Regions from separate parts of the Homo sapiens genome. Here region 1 is linked to region 2. Evidence: promoter capture Hi-C in human tissues and cell types (Jung and others, 2019). All regions are on one chromosome and are shown on one strand. Each heading gives the region's core, a stretch centred on a gene start or on the middle of the fragment in contact. The rest is flanking DNA. Distances are from core to core; before and after follow the strand shown.

Region 1 (3,673 bases), core at 340-2,839, 270 kb before region 2:
CAATTAACAGAAAAGGGAAAGAGGAAATCGAAAATCATCATACAACACAGTCATAATTGTTGCAGACAATATCCACTGATGGGTGCTAAAATTAGTGAACATAAGTTTAAAAACAAACAAGATATTTGCATAGATAGACTCGATGTATTTTTGCCTAAGACATTTGTTAAGTATAAGGGAAAGACGGTAGTTTTTTACAGTGGAGAAAGCTAGCAGAATCACCTTAACCAAATGATCATGGTCAACGTAACCAATAAGACCTACTGACATCATGAATCCCATGAGATGATGCTATAAGACATTGTTTCCGTGTTATTCTTCCCCAAACTGCCTAACTTCAGTCTAATCATGAGAAAACATCAGACAAATCTTCACTGAGGAATATTCAACAAAATAACTGATTAAAACACTTAAAAATATCATGGTCATGAAAGATAAGCAATGGCTTTGGAACTGTTAAAGACTATAATAGACTAAAGAGAAATAATTAAGTGTGAGTGGAAAAACTGGTAAAATTGAAAGGTCTTTCTCTAGTTGTGTTGATAATATTTACCAATGTTAATTTCCCAGTTTTGATAACTGTACTATGGTTTTCTAAGATATTATCATTAGGAAAAGCTTGATGAGAAAGAAAACTTATTTTTGGCAACTTTACTGCAAGTTTAAAATTAGTTCAAAATAGAAAGTTTTAAAAAACCATATATATATATATATATATATATATATATATATATATATATATAAATAAAACGGCTGGAGCTTATAGGAAGGAACAGAATTTCTTGCACATTCTGGATGAATCTAGACAGAGATGGGGGTGAGGCAGTGGCAACAGACTGAGATGTACACCTAATTCTAGACTGACAAGGCTAATGATGGCAGTTCAAAGTAACCCTGCATCCATATGATCTCCAATACTTTACATACCTCGATCATGTAGGGCTAACAAAACCCGTTCATACAAGCAGGCTCTGTAGAGGTCTCCAGGAATAGGTTTTCCTGCCCAGCAGTCAAGTTCCAGCTTCTCGGGGTCAGGGGCGTGCGGATCAGGCTCAGCTAGAATATACCGATAGCCATCTTTGTTAAACGGGTGTTCCAATGGGTAGCCATGAGGGGGAAGGCGCTGAGCAGAAAACAAAGGGTCACTGCAGAAAGGAAAAAATAACATCAAAAAACTAAAACCCCCTTTAGCTCAAATGCATTCAACTGTGTAAGAAAGGCCTCTGGTTTATTTCAGCTAGAATACATGCAACTTCACAGCAAATACTTCTCATTACTCAAATAAGTAACTCTGCCCTCTTCAGGCAAAACAAGGAAGTGAAAAGGATTAGCTTTATTGAGCAAGGTAGTTTTGGTGAAATTACTTGTAGATTGTGGATATCTTCCCAGTGGTCTTTAAACATGAATTGATGTCTATGAAACTGAGCTGGTACATTATGCGGGGGGGGGGGGGGGGGGAAGGGAGGAGAGGAATGGGGGTGATTAGGGTGATAGTCTTTAGTATACTGATTATTATAAAGTAATGAACAGAAGCTCAGAGACATAAGCACTTGCTATCTTGCTAATCTAAGTAAATAACTTGTGCAGTGAGCCGAGATTCCATCACTGCACTCCAGCCTGGGTGATAGAGCAAAACTCCATCTCACAAAAATATATAAATAAATAAGCAACCTGGATTTCATCACCTCAGCTTTAGACAAAGGGAAGGGAAAAGGCATGAGAAGGGAGAAGCAGAAAGTTAAGGAGCTAAAGGAGCTAACATTCAACACTGGTTTCACTCCCTCCCCACCTATCCTTTCTCAAGTCGCCTTAACAGAACTTCACTCCCTAGGTTCCCCAGGCTTATCACCAGAAGACACTATACTTGTTACTACTATAAATTTTGTACTAACAAATGTATGTACACTTAAATGTAAAACATGACACTTAAACTTGGGTTTGTTTTGTTTTTTTGAGACAGTTTCGTTCTCGTGGCCCAGGCTGGAGTGCGATAGCGCGATCTCAGCTCACTACAACCTCTGCCTCCTGGGTTCAAGCAATTCTCCCACCTCAGCCTCCCGAGTAGCTGGGATTATAGGCACGTGCCCCCAGGCCCAGCTAATTTTTTTGTTTTTTGTTTCAGTAGAGATGGGGTTTCACCACATTGTCCAGGATGGTCTCAAACTCCTGACCTCAGGTGATTCACCTGTCTCAGCCTCCCAAAGTGCTGGGATTACAGGCATGACCCACCGTGCCCGGCCTGGGGTTATTATTTTTGTTTTTTGTTTTGTTTTTGAGACGGAGTCTCATTCTGTTGCCCAGGATGGAGTGCAGTGGCATGATCTTGGCTCACTGCCACCCGCCTCCCAGGTTCAAGCGATTCTCCTGCCTCAGCCTCCCAAGTAGCTGGGATTACAGGCGCTCACCACTACACCTGCCTAATTTTGTATTTTTAGTGGAGATGGGGTTTCGCCATGTTGGCCAGGCTGGTCTCAAACTCCTGGCCTCAAGTGATCCACCCTCCTTGACCTCCCAAAGTGCTGGGATTACACGCATGAGCCACTGCGCCTGGCCTCCAACCTGGGGTTATTTTGTCCCTCAAAGTGCTCAAGGTTTAGAAAAAATGGACAGGCTTTTTAACCTCCGACCCTTGAACTCTCTTCCCTCTGCTGGACTTTCCCAGCACCAAATAATACTTAAATAGTGAGGGGGGCAGGGTGGGCACTCTCCCCACCTCCGGGCCTTCTTGGTGGTCCCTGTGGTCCCTCCATCCTGCTGTTTGCGCTTGGCTCCTCGTCCTTTTCCGCTGCTTCCTGCTGCAATTCCCCCTTTGAAGAGAAGGCAGATTGCTTTCAATGAGCCACAAGGGAAACACCATGTGGATACTGAAATTCCATAGGGACCAACACACCCAATGTGCATTTGTGTAACACCACAGGAGGATTTCCTTCCAAAGGCATATTGGATTTCACCCTAGTTTTCAAAGAATCTACTGAGCATCTCATAGCCTGGGAACACTGGGTTCTGGCAATAAACTCAAATGAATCCAGCACTATGATGGTTGGGTTACAGTTTTCAACCTTTGTTCCTAATAAACTGCAACTATTGGTATACTTTCTCAGGGTGTGACACAAATGCATTCTCACTCATTCAGATCCCAAACACCCACAGCTAAAAAGAATGAAAACAACTGTATGGGCACATTTTTTTTCATCCAAATTAATACAAACACCCATAAAGAGAGAATATCCTCACTGTAAGTCGATGTTCACTTGCTTGAACTACACAATACAGTCCATAAACATCATAAAAGCACAGTATCTGCTAAAGCATTGAACCTGAATATCCAACAAGACAAAATACATCCAACATGGAAAACGGAAACAGAAGTACTAAAAAGGTGTTTCTCTCCAGTACTGCTAGATCTCCATCGTGGTTGCACATGACACAAATAAGAAAGAAGGCTTTCGATTTGCTAGGCAATTTTTAGTTCCATACCCATTCGTCAAATACAACATTTATTAAGATTGTGCCAATGCACTAAAATTCAGGTTAGATTAACCTGGCTTGTGGAACTAAAAGCAATAAATAGGAATAGACAATTTACATATTTTATACAAAAAATTTAGCTACATACTAAAGCCACAAGGAAGATTACCTTGTGTATTTCTGAAATAGGTACTTTGAAATTTTT
Region 2 (3,421 bases), core at 211-2,710:
CTGCTGTGTGATCATGCAAGGAACTGTTCCCAGTGCAAGTTATGTCGCTTTCAGGGACACTTTCTTCATCCAAATAAGAATGTCAACCACACTAAAACTAATGGATGTCTCTGAGTGGTGTGTGTGTGCGGGTGCGCATGTGCAAATGTATCTTAATATTTAACTGTCAGACAGCCAGAAATAAGCTCTCATCCTGTATCTCACGCTAGTGGGGAGGTCTAGAAAAGGCGGGGGGGCTTGGACTGCCGGATCCCACCCACGATTAATGTGCTGAAGCCCCCTTCTGTTATGATACTAAAGTAATTCAAATTGAAGAGAAAGGACCGTTGGGTATTATTGTGTCTCTTGGCCCTCCAATGTGAGCGATCCCCATGGGAATGGACGGGATGTCTCTGAAAAGGAGTAGTGATTCTCACACTCTGAGAAAGCAGTCTCTTAGGGAAGGGATGGTGTCTTTAGGTTTGGATATCACGTGTAAAAACTGGGTGTGGAAAAGAAGGGAGTGACACTTCTTAAAGGTATGTTTTATTTTGTTTGAGATGGAGTCTCGCTCTGCCACCCAGGCTGGAGTGCAGTGGCGCGATCTTGGCTCACTGCGCCTCCTGCGCCTCCTGGGTTCAAGCGATTCTCCTGCCTCAGCCTCCTGAGTAGCTGGGATTAGAGACGTGCACCACCACGCCCAGCTAATTTTTGTGTATTTTTAGTAGAGACGGGATTTCACCATGTTGCCCAGGCTGGTCTCAAACTCCCGAGCTCAGGTGATCCACCTGCCTCGGCCTTCCAAAGTGCTGGGATTACAGGCGTGAGCCACCACGCCCAGATAGCTCAAGGTTTTTTAAAAAACATCTGAATCTGCGTGCTTGCGCCGCTCCAGGTCTCCATCACTCCATATTCTTTCACTCCAAACTCCTTTAGACATTCCTGCCTGGCCTCCAAAAGCGTTTGGGTTTGCATCTCTGGATTTTTTTTTCAACTTCCTCATTTTACAGTTGAGAAAAACAGGAGGTAAAGAGAGGAAGGAATCTGCTTTAGGAAGCAGCTCTGGAAAGCAGAACACAGTTTCCTGCTCCCGCTCTCTCTCCACTACTCTCCCTTTAAAAAATATACTTTCTTCTATGGCCAATTAAACATTCATTACCAACCTGCGATTCCCTTAGGACTTTAAAAGGAGGGTTGTTCAGGGGTGACAACAATCTTCTGTCTGTTATACGTGTCCATGTAGGCAAAAACTTTCCCAAATTCAACCCCAGTCTAGGTCCCAAAAACTAACTACAGAGTGCAGGGAAACCAGACAGCTACAGTTCAGCCCAGGAACCTCCTCTCCTAGCTCACGTTTCTACCCGAGCCCGCGGAGGCACAGACCGGAAGTGGCGCGCAGCCTCCCAGCGGAGGGAACCGCCTATGCCTCCGTCGCGCTGGCCGGAAGACGGGGGTGCAACCCTTTGAAGTGTCCCCTCCTACTTCTTGCTGCCTCACGGTTGCTGTTGCAGACCCAGGAGTCTCTGAAGGCTTCCGCGGCTTTGGGGCCGGTTGTGAGATGCCAGGCAGAGGCCGCTGCCCGGACTGCGGCTCCACGGAGCTGGTGGAAGACTCGCACTATTCGCAGAGCCAGCTGGTGTGCTCCGACTGCGGCTGCGTGGTCACCGAGGGGGTCCTTACCACTACCTTCAGCGACGAGGGCAATCTCCGAGGTACTTGTGGCCCTGGGGACAGCCTGGGGCGGTGGAGGGATTAACATCAGATTCCTTTTGCCTCCCCGCTCCCCCCATACTCCTAACTGTAACGCACACACTTAATTTGAGAGAAAATGACCTAAAGTGAGCGAGGGAGCTGAAGGAGATGGGGGCTGCCATTCATCTGTGTTTTCCCAGCACTTAGTATCGGGCATAGATGGTGCGTGTAATAAATATTGAATAAGTGAGACAGAAACAAAAGTTCCACTCATCTTGCCATGTCTGGTCATTGTGGAAGGATTGCCGATACGATTATAGCAGGTATTATTACCCTGAAATAGTTTTAAGCACAAACTGGCAAAACATCACTTTTCTTTGCTTTCCAAGTTTCTGACCAGTGCAGCCCTCAAAATCTGCAGCCATTGTCTGGGTGGGGTGGCTTACGCCTGTAATCCCAGTGCTTTGGGAGGCAGAGCCGAGAGGATTGCTTGAGCCCAGGATCTCGAGACCAGCCTTGGTAACGTAACGAGACAAGTGCCTAAAAAAATTTTTTTTTAATTAGCCAGGTATGGTGGCATACACCTGTAATCCCAGCTACCCAGGAATCTGAGGTAGGAGGATTGCTTGAGCCTGGAAGTTGAAGGCTGCCGTGAGCTGTGATCGCACCACTGTGCTCCAGCCTGGACTATAGAGGGAAACTCCTTAAACAAACAACAACAAAATCTGCTGCTAGGAAAATTGCCTGTATGGAATGTACTGGAAGGATGACTGGAAATTTGGAACACTTGGAGCTGCTTTAATGCAGTCCTAACCTTTCCCAGTCTCTGTGTATTCGGAACCTCTTGTAGACATAGAAAACCAGATGGGGCCTTTAACTGTGCAGCAGCAGATGCTCAATGATTTGAATTTTGCGTCCTGGTTTTGTGTGGTGGGAGGGCAGGGGTCTGATGAATAAAGGCTAAGCACACTATTTGTTGTTTATTATCTTACAGAGGTAACATATTCCCGAAGCACAGGGGAAAACGAACAAGTTAGTCGCAGCCAGCAACGAGGTGAGAATTGACCTTTTACAACACAGTGGCTTTAAAGAAAACTATCCTAGGCCAGGTGCTGTGGCTCACGCCTGTAATCCCAGCACTTTGGGAGGCCTAGGCAGGTGGATCACCTGAGGTCAGGAGTTCAAGACCAGCCTGGCAAACATAGCGAAACCCCGTCTCTACTAAAAATACAAAAATTAGCTGGGCATGGTGGCATGTACCTGTAGTCCCAGCTACTTGGCAGGCTGAGGCAGGAGAATCGCTTGAACCTGGGAGGTGGAGGTTGCAGTGAGCTGAGATCGCGCCACTGCACTCCAGCCTGGGTGACAGAGTGAGACTCCATCTCAAAAAAATAATAATGAGCCGGGCGCGGTGGCTCATGCCTGTAATCCCAGCACTTTGGGAGGCCGAGGCGGGCGGATCACGAGGTCAGGAGATTGAGACCATCCTGGTTAACACGATGAAACCCCATCTCTACTAAAAATACAAAAAAATTAGCCGGGCGTGATGGTGGGTGCCTGTAGTCCCAGCTACTCGGGAGGCTGAGGCAGGAGAATGGCGTGAACCCGGGAGGCGGAGCTTGCAGTGAGCCGAGATCGCACCACAGCACTCCGGCCTGGGTGACAGAGCGAGACTCTGTCTCAAAAAATAATAATAATAATAATAATAATAATAATAATAAAAGAAAACTATCCTGGTGGCCTAGCCCAG

Evidence for each region. Contacts are between HindIII fragments. The study calls those that stand out against the background at their distance.
Region 1: a contact is called between a fragment that was not itself captured here and the fragment with the promoter of BRF2 in region 2, in 1 of the 25 tissues and cell types used here (IMR-90 fibroblasts).

What each region holds. Positions count from the first base shown.
Region 1 is chr8:38,118,404-38,122,076 of GRCh38, reverse strand. ASH2L (ASH2 like, histone lysine methyltransferase complex subunit) reads right to left here. Exons shown (of 16, transcript NM_004674.5): 9 at 2,714-2,807; 10 at 928-1,145. Among named protein-coding and RNA genes, the nearest start is that of ASH2L, 15 kb to the right of the region's middle. The HindIII fragment of the contact is 6,776 bases long and covers 1-3,673 here.
Region 2 is chr8:37,847,900-37,851,320 of GRCh38, reverse strand. BRF2 (BRF2 general transcription factor IIIB subunit) reads left to right here and starts at 1,460. Exons shown (of 4, transcript NM_018310.4): 1 at 1,460-1,691; 2 at 2,666-2,725. The coding sequence starts at 1,538. RefSeq lists enhancers at 1,255-1,604, 1,645-1,784. The HindIII fragment of the contact is 10,485 bases long and covers 1-3,421 here.